Regions from separate parts of the Homo sapiens genome. Here region 2 is linked to region 1. Evidence: promoter capture Hi-C in 16 types of primary human blood cells and fetal thymus (Javierre and others, 2016). All regions are on one chromosome and are shown on one strand. Each heading gives the region's core, a stretch centred on a gene start or on the middle of the fragment in contact. The rest is flanking DNA. Distances are from core to core; before and after follow the strand shown.

What was found. The method cuts DNA at HindIII sites, captures the fragments that hold promoters and counts their contacts. A CHiCAGO score of 5 or more calls a contact.
Region 2: a contact is called between a fragment that was not itself captured here and the fragment with the promoter of ELMOD1 in region 1, in 1 of 17 cell types (endothelial precursors). The highest score is 5.6, in endothelial precursors.

Annotation. Positions count from the first base shown.
Region 1 is chr11:107,587,870-107,595,606 of GRCh38, reverse strand. ELMOD1 (ELMO domain containing 1) reads right to left here and starts at 4,460. Exons shown (of 12, transcript NM_018712.4): 1 at 4,198-4,460. RefSeq lists an enhancer at 3,958-4,017 and silencers at 4,268-4,407, 4,468-4,577. The HindIII fragment of the contact is 4,180 bases long and covers 1,668-5,847 here.
Region 2 is chr11:107,673,484-107,681,220 of GRCh38, reverse strand. No RefSeq gene overlaps it. Among named protein-coding and RNA genes, the nearest start is that of SLN, 35 kb to the left of the region's middle. The HindIII fragment of the contact is 5,075 bases long and covers 595-5,669 here.

The DNA.
Region 1 (7,737 bases), core at 3,211-5,710:
CAATTTCAGTTAAGGTTCTCTCTGGGTGATATTCCACATAAACTGTCATTGAGGATTACTGCAGTAAGCCTTTCTTTAATAAGCCGTGTTCATGCGAAGCCTTGCTGAAAACAAAACCTATGGCCTAATTGCCTTGAAATTTTAGCAACATCAATACATTCTTGATCATATTTTTTTATCATATACTATCAGAATTATAAGGCAGAATGTGTTTGGCAAACATTGCAAACAGGAACAGTAGAAAAACCTGAAGTAGAACTGTTTTCTGCTCTGTTGAAAGGATAATCATTTGAGAAAAAAGACCCTAATGAGCTACTTAGTTATAAGTTTTAGTATAGGGTAATTTTTATAATTTTAAGACCTTATTATAAAATTGAAGTGGAAATTTAACCACACATATGGACACTCAAACACATGAGGCTCTTCTGAAGGATGGTTCCAAAAAAAAAAAAACAGATTTATTGACAGAAGGGCAATCTAGAACGACATTGTATTATCAGTTGCTGGAGTCTGCAAATTGGAATCTTCAAGAAATGAGTAACTGTTCTCTACATGGACTGCAGTGGTTTGATCATCAACTTTCCTGGAAATTTACCACGTTATTCAATAATGAAAGTAGCTTCTGGGTCTTCAAAGACACACATGTATGTGGTGTGCCAGTTTTTTGGAATTAACTGCATTTGGAACATTCTGACTAGGTCCTCTGTGGTACTACAAGCATAGAGTCATTTTCACATAGTGCTATTTCTGTAAAATGTACACTCTTTCCATCATCAGAATCTAGTTTTTTAAAGATAGCTGGATCAAATCAGAAATGATCTCAATTTAATTTCTTTTCCTACTTGAAGCAACAGATTTGCTAAAACCAAGACATCTGCTTATCTTATTTCAGAAATTTGTGCCAAGAAGAAACTGACTATTGATCGGCATCTCAAATATTATATTTAATTATCTACTTTTATATAATTGTAATAAAACATTTAAATGATATATTCCAGTATTGTGTGATGACAACTTTTTACCTGAGGAGACCAAGATGGTAACAGAATAGTAAACTAGCACTTAGGGTATGAGTCAAGAGCAGATCAATTGCTATTTTAAATGCACTGAGGTCCATTCACCGAAGTACCATTTGCTAATTCCTGCACTTGTCCCTTTTCAGCTCTCTCTTCCATTCCCATTGGCAACTATTTAAAATCTTTCTTTCAGAATCCCCCTCCCTTCCCTCATTCTCAGCAGGCCACTCTGTCCTCTCACTGAGGCTATCAGATCAAATCCTTCAACTTCCAGCACCACTCTACTAACTATTAACACAGAGATTTTTTTTTTTTCTCATTTTCGCCCAGGATAAGATCTCGCTCTCTTATTCAAGGCCAGCCCTGTCAAAACTGCTAGGCGTCTCACTCCCTGACTACAGCTGCCCAGCATAATTCAGTGCCTCTTCTAGGCTCCTACAGTAGACACGCCCCTCCACCACCACCATAAACACACACTACTGGCACAGCAACTCCCAGAACTTATGATGCAGATCCCTCCCCCTGCCCCATTTCCCCATGTCATCTTTGCATCCTTGGCACCTTCCACTAAGCCTAGCAAGCAGAGATACCCAACCAATATGTGTTGAAGTGAAACTGTTCACTTTTAAGCATGAGTTATTTTCAAAAGCTTGAACCAGAACTGAGCTTGTCCCAGATTGTCTGCAGAACAGCATATGATTTCTGCTCCACTTTATTTTTTCAACCCATAAATGACCCAAAAAGGAGGAATGAAACATTTCCAGTAACTAAGGTTGCCAGAAAAATACAGGCTGCCCAGTCGAAACTGAATTTAGGATAAACAACTAATAATATTTTGTAGTATAAGTTCGTACCAAATATTACATGGGACATAGGTAAAAACAATAATTCACTGTTTATCTGAAATTCAAATTTAACTGGGCAGCCCACCTTTTTATTTGCTAAATCTGGAAAACCTAACAGTGCTTTGTTAAAAATTCTCAGAGGACTCGGAGAACGCTTCCTTTAATGCACCTGGGGATTTGTATGCAAGCTCCGCAAACTTCTCAATCATCCAGATTTCATGTCTGTTAATGCAACTAGGTTTCTTTCTGAACATCTCAGTAACGTGCTTTAAGAAATGCTGCTTAATTTATTACATGACATTTTCACTTATTTTGTCCATTTCATAGAATTTTTCTTATAATACAATTTATCGAAGATTTTACAAAGAATACTGTAATTTTGCTTAAGATCTCTTGGAAAGCTAACATTTATAGAGTTATTATCATGCCTCAGTTAAGTCCTGGCTGCAAGTATTAATTTTTGAAATTTTCATATTTTCAATTAAATCAGCAGAATGCAAAAAGAGAAATAAACAAATCTTTGATTTGGAGATTTATTTTCTTCATTAATCAAGCACAGCAATACATAGTATCCTTACTAACAGCCTTGCAGAAGCAGCCTGGCAGGCGGAGGTGGAGCCTGTGATGTAACTGCGGTAGGTCTTTGTTGGAAAAGCCTTCCCTAAATGTAAAACATCTGTAAATTGAAGCACTTCAGCTTCACTGTGCATGGGCTGGCAAGATTAAAGAGTTGCTTCTTTCAGCATCCTGTACTGGAGGCTTAAAATTTTGTTCCACAGAGGAATTCCTTATAGGTCTTTACGAAGATTACGTATCTATCTCACCAAAGCTGGGAGAAAAGCAGGCTTTTTCTGCAAAAGAGAACCATTTCGAGTACTGATTGCTGTGTGTGCTGGTTTACTGGTAAATGGTGGTGATGCAATGGAAGTTATAACCCAAAGTGTAGGAAGACGCCCTACAACCTGTTCCAGTCCTCAACGTTCCCTACGTTAATGGGTTCTTCTTTCAGTGTTCTTGACAGTGATGTCTTACAGAGAAGACATTTATTTCTTCTTCCTATGAAAAAGATTAAGATGAGAGAAATACCTCCCAATGTAGATACAAGAGTGTGCCTTTGGCAAAATACCAACTAAACTGACCCCCGAGAAAACTTCTGGGGGAGGGAATGACTAAGTCTGCTGTAACTACGTGTTGTCATAATAGGTTAATGAATTAAGACATTTATCCCAATACAAGCATACTACCTGCTTTCCACCATATTGGCAGCACCAGTTAAGGACGGTTGTCAAGCCACCGGCACAAAACGTATACATTGCAGAGATGCAGAACAATGCCTGGATGCCTGCCCAAAATTGGTCTCTCCAAATGACAGACTCAATTGATAGTACCAATCTACGGCCCACTGGGGGTTAGCAGCGTATTTTCCTAGGTGGTGGGGGAAAGGGATGAAATGTGGAAAGCTCAGGGCACTGTGCAGAGCAGAAAGGCTGACAACATATTCATTAAACTTGATCTGAAGCAAGTGAGCCCGTGAGGTCGTTCCTGAAATATTCATAAGATGTGTTACCGAACTCGCCGCTTAGAGGTTGAGCATAAACACTGAGTCAGAACAGCCCGTACCCACACTTGGAAAACAAAAAAAAGCACCCACAACAGCTCACCCCACCACCACACTCCACTGCTCTGCTTTTAACAGCCCCGTCAGCTGTCAGCTGTCACTCCCCACTCGGCTGTCCAATTCTACCTGCCCGGGAAAGAGATGCTCCAATATTGAAGTGCGGAGTTTCCCAGCAGTTGGAGGAGGCGCAGCTCAACAGCCCAGCCGACCGCTCCTCCCAGCTCGCTGCGCGGAGGACCCCACAGTCCGGCGGCCCCGCAGCCCGGCTGCCTAGCTCCTCCCTGGAGACCGAAGCCCACAAGGCAAGGGGTTCCCAGGGACCCAGACCAGCCCCTCGCCCCAGCCAGGCCGCCCTTGTCCCGCCTTCCATTTTGGCTCTGTCTGGGATCCCTTCCCCGAGCCCTCGGCGTTAGGTCGCTAGGCGACCTACGCCCGGGCCGAGATGCAAACAGCCTCTCGCGCCGACCTGCAGCCTCTCGGGTGTTAATTGGGAGGACAGGATAGAAGGGGAAATCACTGTCCTGGGTGACCCCGGAGCCCCTGCACCAAGGCAGAGTGCACTTTCATTCCCGTTCCCTCTCTGCCCCCGATGCTTAGCATTTCTGCTGCCTCCCAGGCACAGCGCAGCTTGCGTGATGCCTCGCGTCCTCGCCGCACCTCTCTCCTCCCCAAGGGCATTCGCCCCTACTCCCTAGGCTCCTCTGGGGTCGCCAATCACCTGGACTCTGGCGGCGGTAGGCTCAGCAGCTCCCGGCGCGCGGCGGCGTGGTCTTCATCTCCGCCTTCCCCAGGCGCTCCGGCTACGCGCTCCGCGGCGGCGAGCGACGCGCTCGGTCCCGGGCGCCGAGGCTGGACAGGGGCGGCCGCGGCTGCCGCACTGGCTGCGGGCGCGGAAGGGGCGGGGGCGGGGCAGGAATCTGGGTCGCGTGGAGCGGAGCAAGCCGGGATGCACCCGGGGCGGCTGGCGGCGAGGAGGCGACCGAGAGCAGCGGGGGAGGGCGTGCAGAGGCTTCCCTGGGAGCACGAAGCGGGCGGCTACTGAGCATGCCCAGTCCGGGAGCCGGGGGCGCGGGCGCGGTGCTGGGGGAGAGAGCGCGGCACCCAGTGCCGGAATCTGGGGGGAAAGGGTTAAATCTGCGGACCCCGCTGCTGTGGGAGGTGGCTGGTGTGGCCCAGTTTAATTGCTCCCGGGTGGCCTCCCTGGAGGAGCCCACGACAGGAAGATGGTGAACCTGAGATGACCTGTCAATGGGATTCCCAGACAGTCCGGGCAAGGTGTGTTCCCCGCCCTCTCCCTGGATAATTGTCCAGAAGTCAAACTTTGTTTTAGTTCAGCTCCAACCTCCCTCGTCTCACCGAGCACCCAGTGACTCTTCCAATCCTGATCCCCACCCTTCACCTGCCTTCCCGGGACTGCAGAACCCTATCCCTCACCCCAACCGGCAGCCCCCGCCTTTCCCACTCCTGGCCCAGTCGGGTCAGATTCTCAAAGAGCCAGCTCTTTAATTAGGTGTAATTGAGAGATCGTGTCAATCCTGCGAGGTCCATATCTGCATTTCAACAAGGGCTTTAGAAGCAATACCGTAACCCCGGGGTTAATTATAACAGGATGAATTATAGACACCCTCGTCCGGGGCTGTTTGGGGGAACATTGCTTCGTGGGGCCCCAGAAGCCACTTCATACAGACAGAGAGAGAGAGAGAGAGAGAGAGAGAGAGAGAGAGAGAGAGAGAGAGAGAGAGAGAGAGAGAGAGAGAGAGAGAGAGAGAGAGAGAGAGAGAGAGAGAGAGAGAGAAACCTGTGCCTTCCGGATTGCATTTCATGTTTGATGAAGAACGTTTTCTCCATAGCTAATCAAAAAAGTCTCTTTAATGAGGCCGCATGGGGTTGGGGAAAGACCAAATGAGCTTCGAGGTCGGCGCTTATTTTAGTTTCATTCATCACTCCAAGCCGGTTACCTGACCGTCTTGTGCCTCTGTTTCCTCACCTGTAAAACAAAGGGTGGTTAATACCTACCTCTGCGGGCTGTTGTGAGGATTACTTGGGCAGCTGGCGGCGCGGAGCAGCCTGGATACCAAAGCATCTGCCTGTCCCGCAGTGGATGTTCCCTGAATAAAAGTCTCTGCAGGTTCCACCTCCACTATTCTGTGTTTATGAAAAGTTGGGTTAGTGATAATCCTTAAATGCTGAACATTTATCTTATTTCCTCTTCACATTAAATGACCTTAAAGCCTTGACCTTTCTGATTTTTTTAATCATTGTTAAAAGCATTAGCCACTATTTACTTTTCTTTCTTTTCAGGGAGATATGAAGGATACCTCCCTGAATAAACGTCTTGGAAAAAGATAGACCTTTGGAGGGAAAAGCTTCTCGGGAGAGATTCATTAGGGATAGATTAATCCACCTGACAAAAGAATTTTACTCCATAGTCTTTTAAACGTAATTTGCTTGCATCTCCCTGTGGTCCTTGTTTCACAACTATTGCATGAAGTAATGTATGCCTGTATGGAAGGAAATTTACTTCCCATGCATACTGTTGACTATTTAAGTATCAGAATTCAAAAGATAAACTTTTTATTATCCCCCAAACATACTATTTTTTTAATAACACATTGCTTTATTCATGGTGTTCCACCCTTTCTGAAATACCATTCTCAAAAAAAAAAAAAAAAAAAAAGAAATACCATTCTCTCTCATTCTATTTCATGAAGTGCTACTCACTCTTCAAGCTCAAATGTCACCTTCTCTCTGAAGCCTACCCTGAACCTCAAGACAGAGTGAATGCTGTGCTCTCATAGCACCAGTGCATACTGCTATCACAGTACTCATCACAGCCTATCACTGTGGTTCAAGCAATGTAAAACTACTTACTGAGCAACTGTTATTTGCAGGCGCCATTCTACATGTTAGGAAAATAAGAACAAACAAGACAAAGTTCCTGCCCTCATGGAACTTACAGTCTAGTTGAAAAAGACAGAAAATAAACACCTAAACTGTAAATAATCACTAAGGACAGAAGTCTAGTAATTCTGTTAATTTTTGTCTTTGTGTTATCCATCAAATTACGCTATAGAGTCTTGACTCATCCTTCCAAAAAACATCAATAAAAATATTAATATTGGCTCTAGGCCAAACAAATGACATGGACATGGATCTCTGCCAGTTTGTTGCTGAACCAGTGACTTTTACTCCTTTCAGTTGATTCCCTCAGCTAAAACTTTCCTAAACTCAAACCACTCAAGGTAGGTAGCTGCAATCCCATGTGATGAATGGAAAATGGTAGGGGAGGGCTAGAGAGTTTAATCTCCACAACAAATTATATCCTTTATCTAACCTTTAGGAATGGCATTTCTAAAATGTCCAGAATCAACCTGGATCCCCAGATCTCCTGCATCCCAAAAGTCTCTTCCAGGGTCTTGCACACCACTCCCACCCTCTCACCTTTTCACCATCTTTGGCCTCTATTTATGTCAATAGTTATTCTCTGTCATACATCTTCTGTTTGAATCTACCTACTGTCTGAATGACAAGCTTTTCTCTCTGATTCTCTTATTGTCTAAGTGTGAGGCAGCCTTGGTATCACTTAGAACTGACTTCTTCAAAGCATATTTGTACACATGTATGCCATAGCAATTAGAGACAATCTCGCCACTGTTTAATGTGAGTAATTCAAGGGGAGGGTCTCATTCATCTTTGTATTACAGAACTTAGCAGATGACCAATATGTAATAGATACTCAAGGAAAAGTGTGAAAGGAATGAATGAATGTAAGCAGGTTCTCAACTCTATGTGGCTCCTTAGACTATAGTTCTTTTCTAATTGGTTTTCTTGCTAACCCTAGAATTGCTTCACCAGGATCTGGCTCAGTTTTTCTTTTCATAATTTCTCTTCCACCACAAATCCACAGATTTCTCCACCTCTGGGTCCTGCATTATTTTGGGATAAAAATACCTATTGAACAGATTAACATGCAGTCAACAGAGAGGGTATTTGAAGAAACTGAGATCATGTGATGTAGCATTTACAGGTAATGAGTGAAGAATCCAGAGAGGAGAATGTTGTGCCTCTACAGCCTCCCCAGAGTTACAGCCGGAGAGCTGAAGAGGAAGGGGAAGAGCTAGGAGATGCTTTGTCATCAGCTTAGACTCCATACTGGCCCATTACAAGTGACACAGAATTTGAGTCTTTTCCAGACAGGTGGATATATTTCCTTGCTCAGAAGATCTGTTACTGAACATTATCATTTAGAATTTATTTG
Region 2 (7,737 bases), core at 1,883-4,382, 87 kb before region 1:
CATTTAGTCAAAGCACCTAGCAACGGTCATTGTTCAAGGGATGAGTGCATGTCTCAGGTTAGGCTACTAAGAGACTCAATTCCAGGTCTTTATTTAAAATAGGCTGCCCTACCAAACTTCTTGCCAGGACCTGAACCTAAAAGTAAATAACATGGGAGCAGCTTCAGTCACTTTGCCACTGTGGAGCCAAGAGATGGAGACAAACTCAATTCTGGTGACATTTTTTGAGCCGCTAGATTCATCTATGTCTGAAGCCAGATGTATGATTCATTTATTGATATTTATTGATGGTAATCAGTAAATCTTTTTATTTTATTTAAATGTTAAAAGATTAGTACATATAAAGTACCTAGATCCATTTCTAGCAATAATAAGCACTCAATATGAGCTATTACTTGTTTATAGCAATTTGAGTTGGGTTTTCTGTTATTTGCAATCAAAGGAAGTCTAACTTAGGCAACCAATGAGAGAACAAGATATTAAAAAGAGTCCATTTATAATAGTAACGGGGAAATTACAAACCCGCCCCCCCACCAAATCCATAGGTATTAACCTAGCAAGAAATGAGACCTATACGAAGAAAGTGACAAAGCTTTATTGAGAGACCAGAAGAAGATCTGAATATGTGAAAAGAAACAAGAACCTAGATGGGAAGATTCCATATTTTAAATGGATCAAATATCCATAAGAAAATATACAAATTTGTCTACTGATTGGTTCCTTTTTCTCCATGTCCCACACCCTGATACACCTACCCCAACTCTTTCAAATGCACACTCTTCTTTCTCCTGTAATTGTGTCCTCCTGATTTAACCTTCCCAGTATTCTCCGAATCTGTTTCTTCATCTATATACTCACTTCTACAATTCCAGTTTGGGCCCCTATAATGTGTCACCTGGACTACACTACCAATTTCCCAACAATCTTGCTGTTTCTTTTTCTTTTTGATGCTTTAAATTCAGCCTCAAGTTCCAGCTTTTTTTTTTTTTGAGACAGAGTCTTGCTCTGTTGCTCAGGTTGGAGTGTGGTGATACAATCAGTAGCTCACTGTAGCTTCAAACTCCTGGGATCAAGCAATCCTTATGCCTCAGCCTCCCTACTAGCTAGGTCTACAGGTGTGTACCACCATGCCTGGCTGATTTTTTTTTTTTTTTTTTTGTAGAGACAGGGTCTTGCTTTGTTGCCAAGGCTGGCCTTGAACTCCTGAACTCAAGGGATCCTCCTGCCTTGGCCTCCCAAAGTGTTCAGATTACAGGCATAAGCCACCATGCCTAGCCAAGTTCCAGCTCTTTAACTAAGCCATCATCCAAGATCTAGTTGCCATGATATATGATAATGATTTGTGATCCTAATGTCTGAAAATGGAGTCACTCACGTCAAGTGACATTGAGCCCATGGTGAAGTTGTTTACATCTCAAAGTGATAAACATATGTGTAATGGACTGAGGTAGTAAGACAATACCTGCTGTGGCCTAGAACCACTGAGACATGAAACGAACCAATAAAAAGTAAATTCAGAAAGGTGGCTGAGATACTGAGAATGGACACACCTCTGGAGGACCATAAAGGCAGCAAGAACCTGACCTTGGACAGGACACCTTTTGACCCTCTGACCACCTTTTGAGGCCTCCCCCCAACTTGGCGTTTGCCCCCTCCCCATCCACTCCCAAGGCTCTGTCTAAGAGAAGCAGTGACTTCATTGCTGATTGAAGTCAAGGACTTTGGACCCACTTAGCCATGTGTTGGTCTCCCAACCCATCGCTGTGGTTTGTTACCTCCAATTACTGCTTCTATGGATGTTATACAGGATATTATTGCTTCATTAATCATATGTGACTCTCTTGTAACAAACTGTGAATTTGAGCACATTTAATTGGTTGAGTCATTGTGAAAGTCAGAGTTAGCACATCTAGACTGCACAAACCTAAGTAACACAACACCATTTTTATCCCATGCTCCCTGCTCTCTGACAACACTGAATTGCTTGTAATGTTCTGTGCTCTTTCTCACCTTAGTGCCTTTATTCATGTTGACCCCATGCATGGCCTCTCCCATAATACCTAGGACTTGGTACCAACCATTGCCCTCAGCTCACTCCAGCATAATTAACTGTTTAAATGTCTGTCTCCCAACTCTTGGACCTGCAGGCGAGGAGTAGGTCTTATTCATCTTGTATCCAGGTACCTAGCAGAATGCCTGGCATGTAATAGGCCCTTGATGAAGATTTGCCAAAGCCTGGAAAAGAGAATGCAGGGTTCCCTGACTCTCTGATTGTGCCAGAACAGGAAAAATGAACATTTCTTTGAGGGATATTCCTCCCATGTAACAGGACCATAAGCAAGTCGGCCCCAGGGTGCGTGAAGCTGATGAGCGGGAGAAAATAAAGACACAATATTCAGGGTTGAGCAGTGAGATGGAAAATGAATACGGTCAGTTGTGCTAAAACTATCATTCCTTGCAGCAGCGATAATAGCAAGACATAAATATTCATGATGTCATTATTTAGAGAGTTATGAAGTGTCGGCAGAGGATGTACTGTCTGGAATTTTTGCTTCAGTGCCTAAATTTATTACTGGTAAAATTAAGCAAAACAAAACAAAACAAAACATAAATAAAACGCAGTGGTCTCTGACAGCCAGCGAGACGATGACAAACTCTCAAGGTCATGGCTAAGCAAAAGGAGGGCCCTGGTCAGCGCCAGCCCAGGGGGCTCCTCTGACAAGGCTTTTATCTGGAATATTGCTAGGGTTGGCTATCATTGCTAATGGCAACCTGGCCTGAATACTTAAGAGGGTCTCCTCTTCCTTGCCAAATGCATAAATTCACTCTCCTGAGGCTGTTCTTTCTTTCTCTTAAGGTTATTTGTGTTATTTAAATAAAAACATTTATTATTTTCTCCAGATTACAGATAGCATATATACTCATGAAAGAAAATGTGGTTAACAGAAATAGTATGTATAAAATAAAAATAACTTCTAATCCTACCACCCAAAGATAACCATTTTGGTATATTTTCTTTCAGTTCCATTTCTAACATAATTTAAGTGCTGAACTGGTGGGATGTAGCATATGTTGTGTAATAAAGAACTGAGCTGAGCCAGAAAAGCTGGGTTTGCAGCACGTCTGTGCTAGTTTCTTAAAGCTGGGAAGCTGTAAGCATGGTACTCAGTTTTCTTATTTGTAAAGTATGGATAAAGACAATATACCACAGAATTAGTTTGAGAGTTAAAAGAGAAAATGGGCCGGGCTCAGTGGCTCACACCTATAATCCCAGCACTTTGGGAGGCCAAGGCGGGTGGATCACCTGAGGTCAGGAGTTGAAGACCAGCCCGGCCAACACAGTGAAACCCCGTCTCTACTAAAAATTCAAAAATCAGCTGGATGTGGTGGCACATGCCTATAATCCCAGCTACTCAGGAGACTGAGGCAGGAGAATGGCCTGAACCCGGGAGGTGGAGGTTGCAGTGACCGAGATCACACCACTGCACTCCAGCCTGGGCAACAGAGTGAGACTCTGTCTCAAAAAAAAAAAAAAAAAAAGAAAATGAATTTGTCCTAATATAATAGGACCATAAGCAAGTCTGCCCCACGGTGTGTGAAGCTGATGAGTGAGAGAAAACAAAGCCAGAATACACTTGACTCAATGAATAGCATGCACTAGGTGGTCAGTCATTGGTAGCTATCGCTATTATTATTATTATTATTATTATTATTATTATTATTATTTTTGAGACAGAGTCTCGCTCTGTCGCCCAGGCTGGAGTGCAGTGGTGGGATCTCGGCTCACTGCAAGCTCTGCCTCCCGGGTTCACGCCATTCTCCTGCCTCAGCCTCCTGAGTAGCTGGGACTACAGGCGCCTGTCACTAGACCCGGCTAATTTTTTGTATTTTTTTTAGTAGAGATGGGGTTTCACCATGTTAGCCAGGATGGTCTCAATCTCCTGACCTTGTGATCCGCCCACCTCGGCTTCCGAAAGTGCTGGGATTACAGACGGGAGCCACTGTGCCCGGCCACTATTATTATTATTAATAACTTAAGTCATCTAGTCTCAGAAATCATCCTACCCTCCTCCCTATACCTCACCCCTACATCTAGCCGGTTACCAAATCCTGCTGATTTTACTTATTTTGTGCTACGCAAATATCTCTGAGGGGATGGGATACTCAAATATATCCCCTCAGTCTCTGCTTTGGTTCAGGCCCTCGGAATTTCTTCCCTGGGCAACCACAGTTCTATTTGTTTCTTTTTCTGCTTCCTTCCAACCATTCTTCAAGAGGCAGGCAGACAGAATTTCTTAGATGCAAATGTGACCACATCAGGCCTCTGCGATAGTCACAGGGCTGCCTCATATACGTGTGTATATATATGCATATTTGCGTGAATCTATATGGGTGTGCATGCGTGTGTGTGTATGCATGTGTGTGTGTTTGGGAATTCTGAAGCTGAAGGAAGGAGTTTTGTGCTTTGGCCCCAGGAGAGGGATGGAGCGTGTGGAATTGTGTCTAAAATCCCATCTGGGCTTGGGTTCCCCCTAATGGAGGAGTTTGTGCGAGCCTGAAGACACTGTTTTTTAGGTATTTTTGGTGAGGCTATTGCTGCAGGGACCTAGGGACCAGGGGGACTCTGAATGATTTGTCATAACATCTGCATGACCCACAGCTGCAGTGTCAGCTGCTGCAGCAGCAAAGAAGCCAGGAGGGTTGAGCTGCAGAAGGCAGCAACCTGCTCAGGGCTCTGGCATAGCACCAAAGCCAAGGCCAACACACTCTCTCTCAATCGTTTGTGGAAGAGCACATCTGGATGTGTGGGTATTCCTAAATCCTCCTCCAGGAAAGATTTCAAAGAAAGGATCTGTGTTCCTGAATACAAGCAGACCTGTTATACCACACCCTTCACGACCTGGCTTCTGCCTTTGTCTCTGGCTCCTGCCTCATTTCTCGTTAGGTACCAACAACATCCGTGCTCCAGCCATTCTGTGCTAACATTGTTCTCTGGATGTGTCATGTATATGTCCATGTGTTTGCACCTGGTCTGTTAGTTAACATTAGGTCAGGCTGTAAATAACAGAGATTTAAATAAAAGCTAGCAGCTTAAACAAGATGGCTTATTTCACTTTCACATTCAAGTCTAGAGGAGGACAGACCAAAGCTGGTAGATCTGCTGAGGTTCTCAGGGATCTAGGCTATGTCCAACTCACCACTCTGACATCCCTAGGATGTGGCTCTTGTATTTATGGTCCAAGAAGGCAAATGTCACATCCAGTTTATAGCAGCAAGAAGAACCTAGAAACAAAGGAGCAGAGAGTAAGTTCCACATATCTTAAAAAAAAATTTTTTTTTATTGAGACAGGGTCTCACTCTGTTGCCCAGGCCAGAGTGCAGTGGCATGATCTCGGCTCACTGCAGACCTCCGCTTCCTGGCTCAAGTGATCCTTTGGCAGCCTCCCGAGTAGCTGGGACCACAGGTGCGTGACACCATGCCCAGCTACTTTTTGTATTTTTTTTCTTTTGTAGAAATGGGGTTTTGCCATGTTGCCCAGGCTGGTCTTGAACTCTTGAGCTCAAAGCGATCCATCTCCCTTGGCATCCCAAAGTGCTAGGATTACAGGCATGAGCCACCGTGCCTGGCCTCAGTTCCACAAATCTTTAATGTAATAATCTTAGAAGCTTCCAACAACGCTCCCACCTACATGCTATTAATCAGAATTAGTCAAATACCTAGCTGGAAGTAAAGTCAGGAAATGTAAGTCTTTGTTCTGGGGAACCATGTGCTCCAGTTTAAAATTGAGATTTTCTGTTACTATGAGAGGAGGTTCCATCAGATATTGGAGAACAACTGGCAGCCCCTGCTTACCTGGAGATTCCTACTCTTCTTTAAAGACTTGGGTTAAGCAACAGTCTTCCTGGGGAGATCTTTAACCCTTACCCTCAGCCAAGATTGGTGCTCTCAGAGCTCTCTGAGATCAGTCATAACCCTTGTTCCATCTTGATGTATTTGATTAGATGTTTACTCACTTCCAAGACTGATAACAATTTAAGGGCAGCTATAGTGTGCCTGGCACACTGTCTGCCTCATAGCAGATTAATAAATAATTTTCTGAATGAACTGTTATTATCCAGACAAGAAACTGAAGAGCAGAGAGATTCAATGATTTTTTAAAATAACTACGCACCCACAGAAATACATCCAAGTGATTTTTGACAAAGGTGTAAAAACAATTCAACGGAGGAAGGATAGCCTTTCCAACAAATGTCGCAGGAGCAATTAAATATCTATAGGCTAAAAAAATGAACCTCAATCTAAACTTTCTACTTTATATACAGTTAACTCAAGATGGATCAGAGACTTAAATGTAAAATATGAAACTCAAAAACCTTTAGGAAAAAAAATCATAGAAAATCTACAGGGCCTAGGACTGAGCAATGAGTTCTTGGACTTGACACCAAAAGTGTCACGATCCACAAGAGGAAAATTGATAAATTGGGCCTCATCAAAATTAAAATCTTTGTTTTGTGAAAGACTCTATTAAGGGGATAAAAAGACAAACTAAAGACTGGTAAAAAATATTTGCAAGCCACATACCTGACAAAAGACTAGTATCCCATACGTATAAAGAACTCTCAAAACTAAACAAATGATTCAACCAGAATATGGGCAAAAGATATGAACAGTCATTTCACTGCAGAGGTTATAAAATAGCAAAAAAAAAAAAAAAAAAAACCCATGAAAAGATGTACAACATTTTAGTTATTAGGGAAATACCAAATGTAAACCACAGTGAGATATCACCATATACCTATGTGAAAGGAAAATATCTTGGGGCCCCCAAATCACTAAGCTAAAGGGAAAATTCAAGCTGGCAACTGCTTAGGGTAAACCTGCTAAACAAACTGTGGTAAGCTCACTCCATGGAATACTACTCAGCAATAAAAAGGAGTGAATTATTGATGCACACAAAAACTTGGATGGATCTCAAGGGAATTATGCTGAGTGAAAAAGCCAATCCAAAAAAAGGTTATCAACTGTATGATTCTATTTATAACATTCTTGAAATGATCAAATGATAGAGATGAAGAACAGATTAGTGGTTGCCAGGGCTTATGGGGGGTTGAGGGAGGGAGGTGGCATATTTATGGTGATGGAACTGTTCCACATATTGATTGTGGTGATGATTTCATGAATCTACCAACACGATAAAGTTGCATGGAAACACACACAGGTAAAACTGATGAAATCTGAGTAAGTGGGTAAATTGTATCAATGGCAATTTCCTGGCTATAATTTTGTATCACAGTTATGCAAGTTGTTACCACTGGGGGAAACTGAGTGAAGGGTAGATGGAATCTCTTCATATATTTCTTACAACCTCATGTTGTAAAGAAATAGAATGATGTTGAGAAGTTTAATAAAAGATGCTTTTGAAAGCTGGAAAAAAGTTCTCCAAATAAATGTACTTAAAAGGTATTAATTATAAAAACAAGTAAACCCATAGCTAGTTAATGGTATTTTAGATAGATCCTGTTTAGGTGATCCATGTGTTCTTATGTGAAATAGTAATAATTTTTAAAAAGAGAACTTCTCAGATTTGTATAGCATGTTCATCCATGTTAATTCATTTCTTTTTTTTTTTTTTTTTTTTGAGACGTAGTCTCGCTCTGTCGCCAGGCTGTAGTGCAGTGGCGTAATCTTAGCTCACTGCAACCTCCACCTCCCGGGTTCAAGCGATTCTCCTGCCC